2 separate regions of the Homo sapiens genome follow, and region 1 is linked to region 2. The links are contacts of gene promoters, found by promoter capture Hi-C in blood cells and fetal thymus (Javierre and others, 2016). All regions are on one chromosome and are shown on one strand. The core of a region is centred on a gene start or on the middle of the fragment in contact, and the rest is flanking DNA. Distances in the headings are between cores, read along the strand shown. Region 1 has its middle 6.4 kb from the start of WDR41. Region 2 holds the start of ZBED3 (zinc finger BED-type containing 3).

What was found. Contacts are between HindIII fragments. The CHiCAGO score rates a contact against its expected background, and 5 or more counts as called.
Region 1: a fragment that was not itself captured here is called in contact with the fragment with the promoter of ZBED3 in region 2 in 1 of 17 cell types (naive CD8 T cells); the score reaches 5.6 in naive CD8 T cells.

Annotation. Positions count from the first base shown.
Region 1 is chr5:77,495,214-77,502,215 of GRCh38, forward strand. It overlaps a transcript of WDR41 not described here. Among named protein-coding and RNA genes, the nearest start is that of WDR41, 6.4 kb to the left of the region's middle. The HindIII fragment of the contact is 3,185 bases long and covers 970-4,154 here.
Region 2 is chr5:77,081,280-77,088,534 of GRCh38, forward strand. ZBED3 (zinc finger BED-type containing 3) reads right to left here and starts at 6,006. Exons shown (of 3, transcript NM_032367.4): 1 at 5,832-6,006. It overlaps ZBED3-AS1 (ZBED3 antisense RNA 1), which reads left to right and starts at 5,436. Exons shown (of 3, transcript NR_182763.1): 1 at 5,436-6,340. It also overlaps a transcript of PDE8B not described here. RefSeq lists enhancers at 5,664-6,265, 6,266-6,868, 6,869-7,255 and a silencer at 5,678-5,847. The HindIII fragment of the contact is 2,300 bases long and covers 5,572-7,255 here.

The DNA.
Region 1 (7,002 bases), core at 1,312-3,811, 410 kb after region 2:
AGGAACTTGAAGTAGAAGAGCAAATGAAACCCAAAACTAGTAGGAGGAAGGAAATAATAAGAATTAGAGCAGAGATAAACAAAATAGAGAATAGAAAAAATAGAGCAAATCAATGAAACCAAAAGTTGGTCTTTTGCAAAGATGAAAAAAATTTAAAAACCTTTAGCTGGACTGACAAAGAAAAAAAGAGAAAATGCAAATAACTAAAATTGAAAATGAAAGTGGAGACATTACTACTGACTTTGCAGAGAGAAAAGGGACTATGCGACCACTATGAACAATCGAACACAAATTAGATAACCTAAAAGATATGAATAAATTCCTTGAAATACACAAATTATTTAAATTGACTCAGAAAGAAATGGAAAATATTAACAGACCTATAGCAAGTAAAGAGATTGAAACAGTATTCAAAAACCTCCCAAAAAAGTGAAGTCCTGGACCAGATGGCTTTACTGATGAATCTACCAAACATTTAAAGAAGAATTAACACAAATCTTTCTCAAATTCTTCCAAAAAGTGAAGAGGAGGAAACACTTTTTAACTCCTTATACAAGGCCAGCATTACCCTGATACCAAAACCAGAAAAAAAATCACAAAAAGAGAAAATTATAGGCCAATATCCCTTATGACTACAGATGAAAAAAATCTTTGACATAATATTATCACATTAAATCCAACAGCATATTAACAAGTATTATTTACTATGACCAAGTAAGATTTATTCCGGGAATGGAAGAGTGGTTCAGTATAAGAAAATCAACCAATGTAATACATCACATTAATAAAACAAAGGAAGATAACCACAAGATAATCTCAACTGATGCAGAAAGGCATTTTACAAAATCCAACACCCTTTTATCACAAAACTCTCAGAAAACCAGAAATAGAGGGGAAATTCCTCAATAGGATAAAAAGTAATTATGAAAAACCCATGGTTAACATCACATTCGATGGTGAAAGACTGAAAGCTTCTCCCCTAAGATGAGAAACAAAAGAAAGATGTCCTCTTTGACCACTGCTCTTCAACACTGTATTGGAAGTTCTTGCCAGAGCTAGTAGACAAAAAGAAGTAAAAAGCATCCAAATTGGAAAGGAAGAGGTAAAGCTCTCTCTATTTGCAGATGATATGACCCTATATATAGAAAATCCTGAAGAATCCACAAAAAAGGTATAGAGCTAATAAATAAATTCAGCTAAGTTGCAGGGTACTAGATTAATACAAAAAAAATTAGTGTTGTTCCTACTTGCCAGCAATGAACAATCCAAAAAGAAAACTAATAAAGCAATTCCATTTACAATAGCATCTAAAATAATTAAATACATAGGAATAAATCTAACCCTGGAGGTGAAAGACTTCTATACTGAAAACAACAAAACATTGCTGAAAGAAATTAAAGAGTACCTAAATAAATAAAAAGACGTCCAAGCTCTTGGATAGAAAGACAACATTGTTAAGATATAAATACTTCCCAAAGCAATCTCCAGATTCAATGCAATCTCTATCAAAATTTCAATAATCTTGTTCCTAAAAATGGAAAAATAATCCTCAAATTTATATGGAATTGCAAGGGGTCCCAAATAGCCAAAATAATCTTGAAAAAGAAAATAAGGTTGGAGGACTCACACTTCCCAACTGTGGAACTTACCACGAAGTTAAAGTAATAGTACTGGCACAAGGACAGACATGTAGACCAATGGAATAGAACAGAGAGCCTAGAGATAAACTCTTACATATATGGTCAATTTTTTTGACAAGTGTACTAAGACCATCCAATGGGGAAAGGACAGTCTTTTCAACAATTGGTACTAGGAAAACTGGATCTCTACACATAAAAGAATGAACTTGGATCCTTATCTTATACCATACACAAATGTTAACTTAAAATAGTCAAATACCTAAACTTAAAAGCTAAGTTGTAAAACTCTTAGAAGAAAAAAAATTGGAGGAGAAAATATTCATCACATTAAATTTGGCAAAATTTAGTGGCGGTGACACCAAATGCACAGGCAACAAAAGAAAAAATAAACCAATTTGACTTCATCAAAATTAAGAACTTTCATGCGTCAAAGGATACTACCAAGAAAATGAAAACCTACAGAATGGAAGAAAATATTTGCAAATCATACATCTGATAAGGAAGTGATACCTGTAATATATAAACATCTCCTACAACTCAACAACAACAACAACATAAAACAACCCTATTAAAACTGGGCAAAGGACTTGAGTAGACATTTCTCCAAGGAAGGTATATGAATGGTCATTAAGCACCTGAAAAGAAGCTCAACATAATTAGTCATTAGAAAAATGCAAATCAAAACCACAATGGCATGCCATTTCACACATACTAGGATGCCTATAATTTTTTTAAGCTGGAAAATAAATGTTGATAGGGATATGGAGAAATTGGAGTCCTTGTGCATCGTTAATAGAAATGTAAAATGGAGCAGCCACTGTGAAAAATCGTTTAGCAACCCTCGAAAGTTAAACATACAACTACCATATGACCCAGCAAGTCCACCTCTAGGCATATATCTACAGGAAATGAAAGCAAGGACTCAACAGATATTTGGGCCAATGTTGACATCAGCACTATTCACAATAGCCAAAAGCCGGAGACATCCCAAGTGTCCATCCACAGATGAATGGATAAATAAAATGTGATGTATGCATATAATGAAATATTATTTAGTCATAAAGGAATTAATTTTTAAATATATTCTACAACATAGATGGGCCTTGAAAACATATGTTAAGTGAAATAAACCAAACACAGTAGAATAAATATTGTATGATTCCACTATTATGAAATACTTAGAATAGGTAAATTCATAGAGACAGAAAATAGAACAGAGGTTACCAGGGATGGGAGAGGGGGAAATAGGGAGTTATTATTGAATGAGTACAGAGTTTATGTTGAGACCAATGAAAAACATTTGTATATAGTGGTGATGATTATACAATATTGTGAATGTACTTAATGTCACTGAATTGTACAATTACAAATGGTTAAAATGACAAATATGTTAGTATATTTTACCACAATAAAAGAGATAAATAGATCAATGGGACAGAATAGAGTACCAAAATAAAGCCACATATATATGGATAACTGATTTTTTTACAGAAGTGTAAAGGCAGTCAGTGTAGAAAAGACTATTGAAAAAGTCTTTTTGTTAATTGTGCTAGACAATTTGACATCCATATCCAAATAAATGTACTTCAATTTATATCTCATTCCATAAGCAAAATACAGGATTAATCATAGGCATAAATGTAAAACCTAAATCTATAAAACTTCTAAAATAAAACATGGAGAGGCCAGTCATGGTGTCTCAAGCCTATAATCCCAGCGCTTTGGGAGGCTGAGGTAGGAGGATTGCTTGAGCCCAGGAGTTCAAGACCAGATTGGGCAACATAGCGAGACCTCATATCTATAAAAAGTTTTAAAATTAACCGAGCATGGTGGCAGGTGCCTGTGGTTCCAGTAACTCAGGAGGCTGAGGCAAGAGGATCACTTAAGCTCAGGAGCTAGAGGCTGCAGGAAGCTATGTTCATGCCACTGTACTTCAGCCTGGGTGACAGAGTAAGACCCCATCAAAAAAAAAAAAAGAAAAAAGAAAAAGAAAAAAAGAAAAAACCATTGTGACTTTTTAAAGATTTTATCTCAAAAGTACAATCCATAAAAGAAAAAATTGATAAATTGTACTACATCAAAATTAACACTTCTGTTCTTTAAAAGACACTGTTAAGAGAATAAAAAATAAGCAATAGACTAGGGAAAATATTTGCAAATTAGGTAGGTGAAAAAGGACTTCTCTCCAGAATATATAAAGAACCCTGAAAACTTAATAAAAGTCCAGTTCTGAGTGAGATAGGATAAATACACGTCACTCTTTCTCTCCAATTGAACACAACTATAAACCTTGAACAAAATAGATGACGTAACTCTTTAAGGACTCTGAAAAAGGAGGAATGGGGAAGAATACCAGAATTCAAATTACCAGCAAGTCAGCATTTCTTTTTTCTTCAGCAGCTTCCCCAGCCTGAATCCAATGCAACCTCAAATCTGGAAAGGAGCACTGTGGTGCAGAAAGAGAAAGGTGTACCTTCTAGTTGTGGCTGAAACTGCAGGAAGAGGAACTCCCAAAGCTTAGAGAGAATGCAGGAATCCTCTGGGTCTTTTCCTCTCCTTTTTGTCCATTCTCTTATGCCTCAGACTCCAAAATATCCCACAGTAATGGTGGCAGCTGTTACAGTGGCTACCAACAGGAGACTGCAGGAGCCAAAACTCTAAGGGAAGGGAGACTTCCTCTCCATTCGGTAGAGCTCATGCTGCAAAAGAGTGCATCCAAACCCAGACCTGTTTTTTCCCATCTTTCTACCCTTCCACTAACTGGCACCAGAGGTGGAGCAATTACGAAAGGGGGTGGTTTCCAAAAAGGGAAACCCCAAGGAAACAGAAAGTACCAGAGAGATAGTGGAAATAGAAGAGTTCAGGAAAGCAACCCCAATTACTTTTATATGAACATGTAGGCACACCTTCCTTATCTTCATATGCAAGGCTCTTAATCTAATTAGTGTAAACTGAGTTAATAGAATTCTGCCTGGGCCCGAGACTAATTACTAGATGGGACAAATACAGATAACACTGTAAAGGCATTAAAACTGAACAAACATTAGAGCCACAGCTCACAGAAGGTGAGTTACAACTTGTGCCTAACCTAGTCAGGTTAATTGCTTGTTAAAAAAAAATACCAACAGTCTCCACAGGACTTAAAACCAAGTTTCATAGTGTCATATTCCAAAGGTCTAGGAGTATAAGCCCAAATTACTTGGCATATGGAGAAACACAAAAGTCTTAGCTCACATGGAAAAATATAATCAACGGTTGCCAATGACAAAACTACAGATGTTGGAATTACCTGACGAAGACTTTAAAACATATTATAAAAATGCTGGCATGGCAATTATAAACACTCTTGAAACAAACATTAAAACACAATGTATCAGCAAAGAAATAGAACATATAAAATAGAAAGAACCAAATGAAAAATTTTACATTTAACATACAATAACCAAAATTTAAAACTCAGTGGATGAACTAATAGCAGAATGGAGAGGACAGAGGCAAGAGTCAGTGAACTTAAATGGAGAAAATCAATAAAACCAAAAGCTGGTGTTTAAAAAGATCAGTGAAATTAATAAGCCACTAGCAAGACTGACAAAGAAAAAAAATAAAAGATAAAAATTAGCAGTATAAGGAATGAAAGCAGGGATATTACTGTAGGCCCCACAGACATTAAAGGGATAATAAGAGAGTATTATAAATAACCCTACACACAAAAATTTAACAACTGATGAAATGGAGTGATTTCTCAAATATCACAAATTACCAAAATCTGTTCAAGCTCAAATAGGTAACCTAAGTAGTCCCATAACCATTTACAAAATTGAATTCATAGTTTAAAATGTTCTTAAAAAGAAATCTTAGGGTTCAGATACCAAATCATAATGAAAATCCCAGAGGATTTCCTGTAGATAGACAAGCTGCTTCTAATAGGTATAAAGAAGGGCAGACGAACTAGAATGTGCTGTGAGACATTACATTAAAAACCAAAAAAGATACTAAAAACTTTAAAATTTGAATCTTGTAGTCCCTGCTCTCAAGAAACATATTTCAGGAGGTTCCAAGATGGACAAATAGGAGCAGTTCCGGTCTGCAGCTCCCAGCGTGATTGACACAGAAGATGGGTGATTTCTGCATTTCCAAATGAGGTACCTGGTTCATCTCATTGGGACTGCTTGGACAGTGGGCACAACCCATGTAGGGCAAGCCTAAGCAGGGCGAGGCGTTGCCTCACCCAGGAAGTGCAAGGGGTTGCAGGATTTCTGTTTCCTAGCCAAGGGAAGCCGTGACAGACTGTACCTGGAAAAACAGGACACTTCTGCCCAAATACTGCGCTTTTCCCAAGGTCTTAGCCACTGGCAGACCAGGAGATTCTCTCCCATTTCTGGCTCAGCGGGCCCCACACCCACAGGGCCTTGCTCACTGCTAGTGTAGCTGTCTGAGATTGAACTGCAAGGCGGCAGCCTGGCTTGGAGAGGAGCATCCACCATTGCTGAGGCTTGAGTAGGTAAACAAAGCAGCCGGGAAGCTCGAACTGGGCAGAGCCCGCCGCAGCTCAGCAAGGCCTACTGCCTCTATAGACTCCACCTCTGCGGGCAGGGCATAGCTGAACAAAAGTCAGCAGACAACTTCTGCAGACTTAAATGTCCCTGTCTGACAGCTCTGAAGAGAGCAGTGGTTCTCCCAGCACAGCGTTTGAGCTCTGAGAACAGACAGACTGTCTCCTCAAGTGGGTCCCTGACCCCTATGTAGCCTAACTGGGAGACACCTCCCAGTAGGGGCTGACAGACACCTCATATAGGTGGATGCCCCTCTGGGACAAAGCTTCCAGAGGAAGGATCAGGCAGCAATATTTGCTGTTCTGCAGCCTCTGCTTGTGATACCAAGGCAAACAGGGTCTGGAGTGGACCTCCAGCAAACTCCAACAGACCTGCAGCTGAGGGTCCTGACTGTTAGAATGAAAGCTAACAAACAGAAAGGAATAGCATCAACATCAAAAAGGACATCTACACCCCATTGGTAGGTCACCAACATCAAAGAGCAAAGGTAGATTAAAACCACAAAGATGGAGAGAAATCAGAGCAGAAAAACTGAAAATTCTAAACACCAGAGTACCTCTTCTCCATCACAGCTCCTCGCCACCAATCAAACAAAGCTGCATGGAGAATGACTTTGATGAGTTGACAGAAATAGGCTTCAGAAAGTTGGTAATAACAAACTCCTCTGAGCTAAAGGAGCATGTTCAAACCCACCACAAGGAAGCTAAAAACCTTGAAGAAAGGTTAGATGAATGGCTAACTAGAATAAACAGTATAGAGAAGATCTTAAATGACCTGATGGAGCTGAAAACCATAGCATGAAAACTTCG
Region 2 (7,255 bases), core at 4,756-7,255:
ACTAGTGAAGATGGGATGGATTTTAGGAAAGCATTCTGGCCATTTCTTTTCTTTCTTTCTTTTTTTTTTTTTTTTAATTTTTTTTAAGACAGGGTCTTGCTCTGTCACCCAGGCTGGAGTGCAGTGGCACAATCATGGCTCACTGCAACCTCTGCTTCCCAGGCTCAAGAAGTGATCCTCCCACCTCAGCCTCCAAAGTAGCTGGGACTACAGGTGCATGCCACCATGCTTGGCTAATTTTTGTATTTTTTGTAGAGACAGGGTCTCTGTTGCCCAGGCTGGTCTTCCTTGAACACCTGGGCTCAAGTGATACACCTGCCTCGGCCTCCCAAAGTGCTGGGATTACAGTCGTGAGCATACCCAATGAGAATGCATGTCATTAATTCTGTGGTTAGCTAATAAGAAGAAAATGAAAAGTAAGAGATCCCTCAATTTTTCCTTGAACATTTTTTAAAACTAACACAAAGGTGCCAATGAATTTGAGTATTTTGCTTACATCCATCCACTCCATCCAACTCTCATTCAAATGCTCATTGTGCACCTGCTAAGGTCAGGTGCGTGCTTTCTGCCAAGCATTCCAAGAGGAATGTCACATAGTCTCTGCCCTCAGGAAGCGTACCATCTGGTGGGGAAAGAGATGCTTCCAACAATTCTGATACCTGTGTGATAGGGCCAGCTGCAATTTCTATATTAATTAAAAATAGAGGCTGGGCTCGGTGGCTCACGCCTGTAATCCCAACACTTTGGGAGTTCCAAGCAGGTGGATCACCTGAGGTCAGGAGTTCGAGACCAGCTTGGCCAACATGGTGAAACCCTGTCTCTACTAAAAATACAAAAATTAGCTGGGCATGGTGGCGGGTGCCTATAATCCCAGCTACTTGGGAGGCTGAGGCAGGAGAATGGCTTGATCCTGGGAGGTGGAGATTGCAGTGAGCCGAGATAGCACCATTGCATTCCAGCCTGGGTGACAACAGCGAAATGCTGTATTGAAAAAAAAAAAAAAAAGATAACCTGAGATTCTACTCCTGGGGATCTCTTCTATAGAACTATCAGCACCAATAAACACAGTCTTGTATCAGGATGTTCACGTAGAATGACATCAGAATCTACATCAGAATCATGTAGAATGACAAGAAACTGGAAGCAAGGGAATGCCTACCACCAGGAAAATGGCTGAGTATATAACATATGTTCATACCAGGGAATATTATACAGCCATTAAAGAGGAAAAGGATGAAGTTCTGTTCAATGTCTTACAAGGATATCTGGAGGAACTGTTCAGGGAGAAAAGAGAGATGCAGAAGAGTGTATAATATGATCCCACTATTATTAAGTAATATACATATCTGTAGAGGCAATATATAGCTATAGATGAAGAAAAATAAGGAGATACTATGGTTGAGGCAATGGTAACTGATGTGAAAGGAGGGAGAAGGGGAAGAGGTAAACACAAAAGTAAAAGCAATGAGGTACTAAGAAAGCATGCATGTGATCACGTGTATACATTTAGGGAAAGTGTGTATATCACAGGATCTCTACATAAATAAAAAATAATTTTATAAAACAACCCTTGGGCCTGGGTGTGGTGGCTCACACCTGTAATCCCAGCCCTTTGGGAGGCCAAGGCAGGTAGATCACCTGAGGTCAGGAGTTCAAGACCAGCCTGGCCAACATGGTGAAACCCCGTCTCTACTAAAAATACAAAAAATTAGCTAGGCGTGGTGGTGGGTGCCTGTAGTCCCAGCTACTCGGGAGGCTGAGGCAGGAGAATCGCTTGAACCTGGGAGGCGGAGGTTGCAGTGAGCCGAGATTGCACGATTGTACTCCAGCCTGGGTAGTAAGAGCGAAACTCCATCTCAGAAAAACAAAAAACAAAAACAAAAAAGCAAAACAACCCTTGGCTCCTCAAGCATGTGAGCTCAGGCAGGGCCAGCCCAGCCTTAACTGTGGAGGCTGGTGGGACAGTCCCATGGGGAAGCCCACTGCTGCGCCGCTTGGAGGAGGAAACCCAGCATGTGAGGCTGCTCATTGTCACGTGGTTTGCTGTGCTCTGCAGAAGGAGATTCTGTGTTCACACCCAGGATGTCATGGAAGAGGAGCTCATCCCATTCATCTCCCTGGCACAGGGTAGACACTTGGGGGATGCTGCATTAAGTGAAGTGAACCTGACTCTGTTTCTTTAGCCCCAGCCCACCCGAGTCTCAATCTTCCCATCTGTCAAGAGAAATAATAAGATTATTTGCCTCTAAACAGGTGGCTGAGATCATAGATAGTGCAAATGATGTCACTGTTGGACTCTCCGGTGTTATATAAATTTAAGACATGAACAATAAAGAAACTACCGATATTTACTGCTCAGACATGCCCACGTTAAGATTTTAATGGCTAAAAGGCAGTTGTTTTTCCATCTGACATTATGTTATTCAACAGAGTAAGTAGTCTAAGTTGGAGGAATCCCCTTGGGAATTGACTACAAAGAGCAAATAAAAAAGAGTAACAGATCCAAGACCCTTACCCCTTAAATTTATTTTCACTTCCTAAATTGAACTTCATGCAAAATAGGTTATTTATCACTAGGGTAAAATAAGATAATGGGGAGGTTTAATTAGCCAAAGCCCTGTGATAACGCGTTTCTTCCTTACCAAATACCCAATGAGAATGCATATCATTAATTCTGTGGTTAGCTAATAAGAAAATGAAAAAAGCTCCCTTAATTTTTCCTTGAAAAAATTTTTAAACTAACACAAAGATGCCAATGAATGAGTATTTTGCTTACATCCATTCACTCCATCCAACTCTCATTCAAATGCTCATTGTGCACCTGCTAAGGTCAGGTGCGTGCTTTCTGCCAAGCATTCCAAGAGGAACGTCACATAGTCTTTGCCCTCAGGAAGCGTACGGTCTGGTTGGGAAAGAGATGCTTCCAACAATAATTCTGATACCTGTGTGATATGGTTTGGCTGTGTCCCCACCCAAATCTCATCCTGAATCCTACTCCCATAATTCCCACGTGTTGTGGGATGGAACTGGTGAGAGATAATTGAATCACGAGCGCGGTTTCTCCCATACTGTTCTTGTGCTAGTGAATAAATCTCACGAGATCTGATGGTTTTATAAACGAGAAGCCCTTTTCGCTTGACCCTCATTATAGCTCATGCCGCAGCCAGGTAAGAAGTGCCTTTCGCCTTCCGCCTTCCGCCATGACTGTTAGGCCTCCCTAGCCACGTGGAACTTTAAGTCCATTAAACGTCTTTCTTTTATAAATTGCCCAGTCTTGGGTATGTCTTTATCAGCAGCGCGAAAACAGATTACTAACACACTGTGGTAAAGGTGAAATCAGTGCTCACTCCTTCGGGTGAATTCCGTCACATAATCTCCACTGGGGAAGGGGTGGGCATGGGCAGCTCCTGGGAGCTGATGTCTTAGGGGCCCTAACACAAAAGTTCATGCAGTTCAGCATCCCTTCCCCTCCCATGCCCCACAGGGCACAAACGCATTGTTGTCCATCACCAAAACACATTACCCTTAGTACTCGACTCTAATGAAGTTCCAGTTCCTCAGTTGTATAACGAGGCTTCCAAGCTCCTATTTTAAAAGAAAGTTTCTTGAAGCTAAATAAAAGCACTGCTAACATGAAATTAACAGTGGAAATTTTTGAGTGTAATTTCAGGGTGAAAAAAACTGAAAAGACAAATGTAGATTTTAGATATTTCAAGGAAGGAGAGAGAGTAGTGTTGCTGGTACCATGCCTCTGCACTTGCTATAGCTGAGTTTCATTTGAGTATCCATTATTTGGAAGGAGTTCTTAAATCTAAGCCTGTGGAAGACAATAAATTCACATTAATTATCTCTCCATTTGACTCAATTTCTGAAGAAGTTCTATCCTTCTGATGAACTATCAGATTAAATCCCAGATTCCTCAGTATGATGTCCCTGAATACCAATATAAAGAATAAAGGAAGAGATCAAAACCTGGATGAATAATCTGTATAAACATGGGCATATACACAAGGTATGACTATAATATTGAGACTCATCCTATAAAGCACCTACAAAAGTTGATTGTATTATTTTATACTTATGCTTGTGCACATAAAAAATATTTGGCAGGCTAAAGGCCAAAGAACCAGGCACTGTTCTCAAAAGGACATAGCAGATTAACTACACCTCTATTTGTCCTTCTATACTCAAGGCTACTTACTGTAGTTGGGTTGACCAGGCAGAGTTTAAATCAATATATGTTGGTTGAGCCTGGATCTTAGATGAGAAATTCACACTAACGTGAAATTCACACAGACATATGTGGAAACACTAAAAACATTTTCTTTTACTTCATCCACCAGTGACTTTAATGAAAGCAGAGCATAATAATTAATACAAGTAATTAGAGTTGACAACTGAAGTGTCAAGAAAACCACAGTTCATCTGTTATCCGTCCATCTCTGTTGAAATATTAGTTTACTGCCATATATTAATCTATTTATAAAGAGATCCAGACAATTAGAAAAATTAGTCTGGAATCACCAGGCTGAAGGCTTAGCTGAAGTTAAAAGACAAGTAAAAATGCCTCCAAACTGTAAAACCTGAGTTGGGGAATAAATGGTAAAATGTGTAAAAATTTAGAAAAAGGTTATATGTGGACTGTAAAAAATACACTGGACTCACAGGTAATTAAGGGGTGAATCAGAGTTGTTTCCTAAATGGCATAAGCCAAACTCTTAGATATTTCTACCATTAGCTAAAAGGCAGAGAAGCACTCTCTCTCTCTATTAATGCACTTTTAAAAATGAAAATTGTGAAGTGTTCTGCCCTTAAAGTGGACCTTTATTTCAGGTCTGCATTACTTTGCTTAATAGATATGGTCCTAAAGATTAAGGTGGTGATCCATTTTATCTTGTAAAAATGCATAATTTAATCTGAGTTATAGGAATTTAAAGCTGCCCTACTTTGAAGGCCTTTGTGACTCAAAGATTTTTTTAATTTAATTTTTAAATTGAGAATTACCTGGCTTGGGCTTTTGGTCTTTTTATAATACGTATTGCTGTCTACTTTTTTTTTTATTCTTGGCTGCCTCAAGCTATTCTTGCCTCCAAAAGGTGTCAGCATATGAATAAAAACAGCAGAAAATAATTACCCTAATTAGGTCAATGTATTAAGCTGTTTCTACAACTGTTTCTCTTAAACACCTTATCTTTGTAGTCTTGGCTCATTAGAAATTCGACTAGTGGTAAGTATTTATTTTTTTCCTTCAAGGGGGTTTTTGCTTTGCTAAGCCTCGGGCATTTGGTTCGTGCAAGAAATCACAGAAACTGCTCCAGCGGACTCCGAAAGGAGCGGAAAATTCTTTTGTTTGGGGGCCATGAGGGGTGGGGGAGGGGTGGGGATTCTGGTGTAAGCTTTTGGCTTGCATTCGCTTTCTCCCTCCGAAAGTGGGCGACATCAAGCAAGTCCCAGTTACAGAAAGAACCCACTGCAGGGCGTCCAGTCACTTGCCCAGTGAAAAGACTGTAATCAGACAACTTTAATAAAGGGAGAGCAGGAGAGTGGTGACGAATTTCCACATTCCGAACAAGCTTGTCGAAAGAGGAGTGCAGGGAAGGAGCAAGAATGAGGCACTGGAAGACGGTGAGCGGGGCCTTGCCACAGAATCCCGGGCCCACCTGCTTTCTCACAGTCGCGACAGCCGGCCCGGAGAAGGGCAGCCCAGCGAAGGGCACGCCCCGCGCGGGTGCCAGGGAGGCCGGCAGGGGCGTCCGCGGTCGCTGCTCACCTGCGCTCCCCGCTGCCCGGCCCAGCCCGCCTCGCCACCGAGTCTGGAAGCCCACACTCACCCCTTTACCCGGGAAACGCGGCCGGAGCCGGCGGCGGGTCGGGAGTCCGAGATGGTAGATCCCCCTCCAGGCGCCTCGCTGACATTTTGTCCCGGACGGAAAACCTCCGCGCGTGCCCCTTAAAGACACAGCGCTGCATTCACACGTCTGCGGGGAAAGGGGGGCCGTCACGTGTGGCCTTCGCCCGAAAGCGGTAGGGGAGTCGCTCTGAAACCGCCAAGGATCGCGAGCGACAGATTTGTGTTGGCCAGGGTTTTAAGATGACGCAATAGCTGAGTGTGGTTGAAATGTAACTATTGTTTTACAACTTTGCATTAACCTTCCAAGACCTGAATTCCCGGGCCTGAGTCTCAGAGCGCGGTTTGCATCTTTGCAGGCTGTAGGCGCATGATGTCACAAGTTATTGGAAGAAATCCCTCCAACCTAGGTTGGGACAGATGAAGGCGGCGCTTATTGGTGTTCACCAAAACACCAGCATGGTGTACCAGCTTTGGCTAGATGATGCTCAGGTAACGAACAACCCCTGCAACTCAGTGGCTTAAAGGTCCATTTCTCAAGCGAATTACTGTGGCTGCAGGGAGCTTTGGCAGTACTCCACCAGTTTTCTTCACTCCAGGCTGAAAGGTCAACTTTTCTGGGCCATGCTCCCTGCTGGGCTGGTAAACCAACTTTGAGGGAGAAGGGGGAAGTCCAGATATGTAGTGTTTGCTATTTCTATGATGTAAATGCTCCCACAATGGCCGATTTCAAGCTACAAACAGTCCAACAAGTGGCTTGCCAAGTTCCTGGAAATTTAACAATTAGCTCCTGTACATGACTGGCACAAGCTGCTTTCCAAACTCACATTCCGCATGCCTCAGTTCTGCTCACTTTCTATTGGTCAAAACTTGCTGTCAGTGGGTGGGGAAGTGTACCCCTCTCTTAAGGAAGCCTTGCAAGTCTTGTGACAATGAAACAGGAGAGTTCCCTGATTTCCTCCCGGCCCCCGCCCTCCCACAGCCCTTTGCAGGACGTGCAACAGGGTTGTGGCTCGTGTGTTCGGTCTCTGCCTGCTGAAACCCCTTATGGGAGGTGGAGCATGCAGACGGACGGGTGCAGGAGCCAGGGTGCAAAAGCTGGGGCGCTGGGCTTCCAGCCCCACGGCAGTGTCCAGGGGCAGGATCCCGTGATTCCCGGAGCCCAAATGGGCGTGTGTTACAGTGTGCTCTTTTAGCCTTACCATCAGCTGACGGCTTAAGTGTTAACCAGCTCAATAGACCCTCTGCCTTTTTGCAAGCGCAGAGGGTCAGTGTGACAGTTTCTGTATCTCAGCTCTTGTCTCACCTCCCAGAAGAATCAGGTCACACATGGACTTGAAGGATGGTGAGTGCCGGGGTGGGGGCGGGGGTAGAGGAGTTGGGGGAAGGTTGGGGGTGTTTATTAGG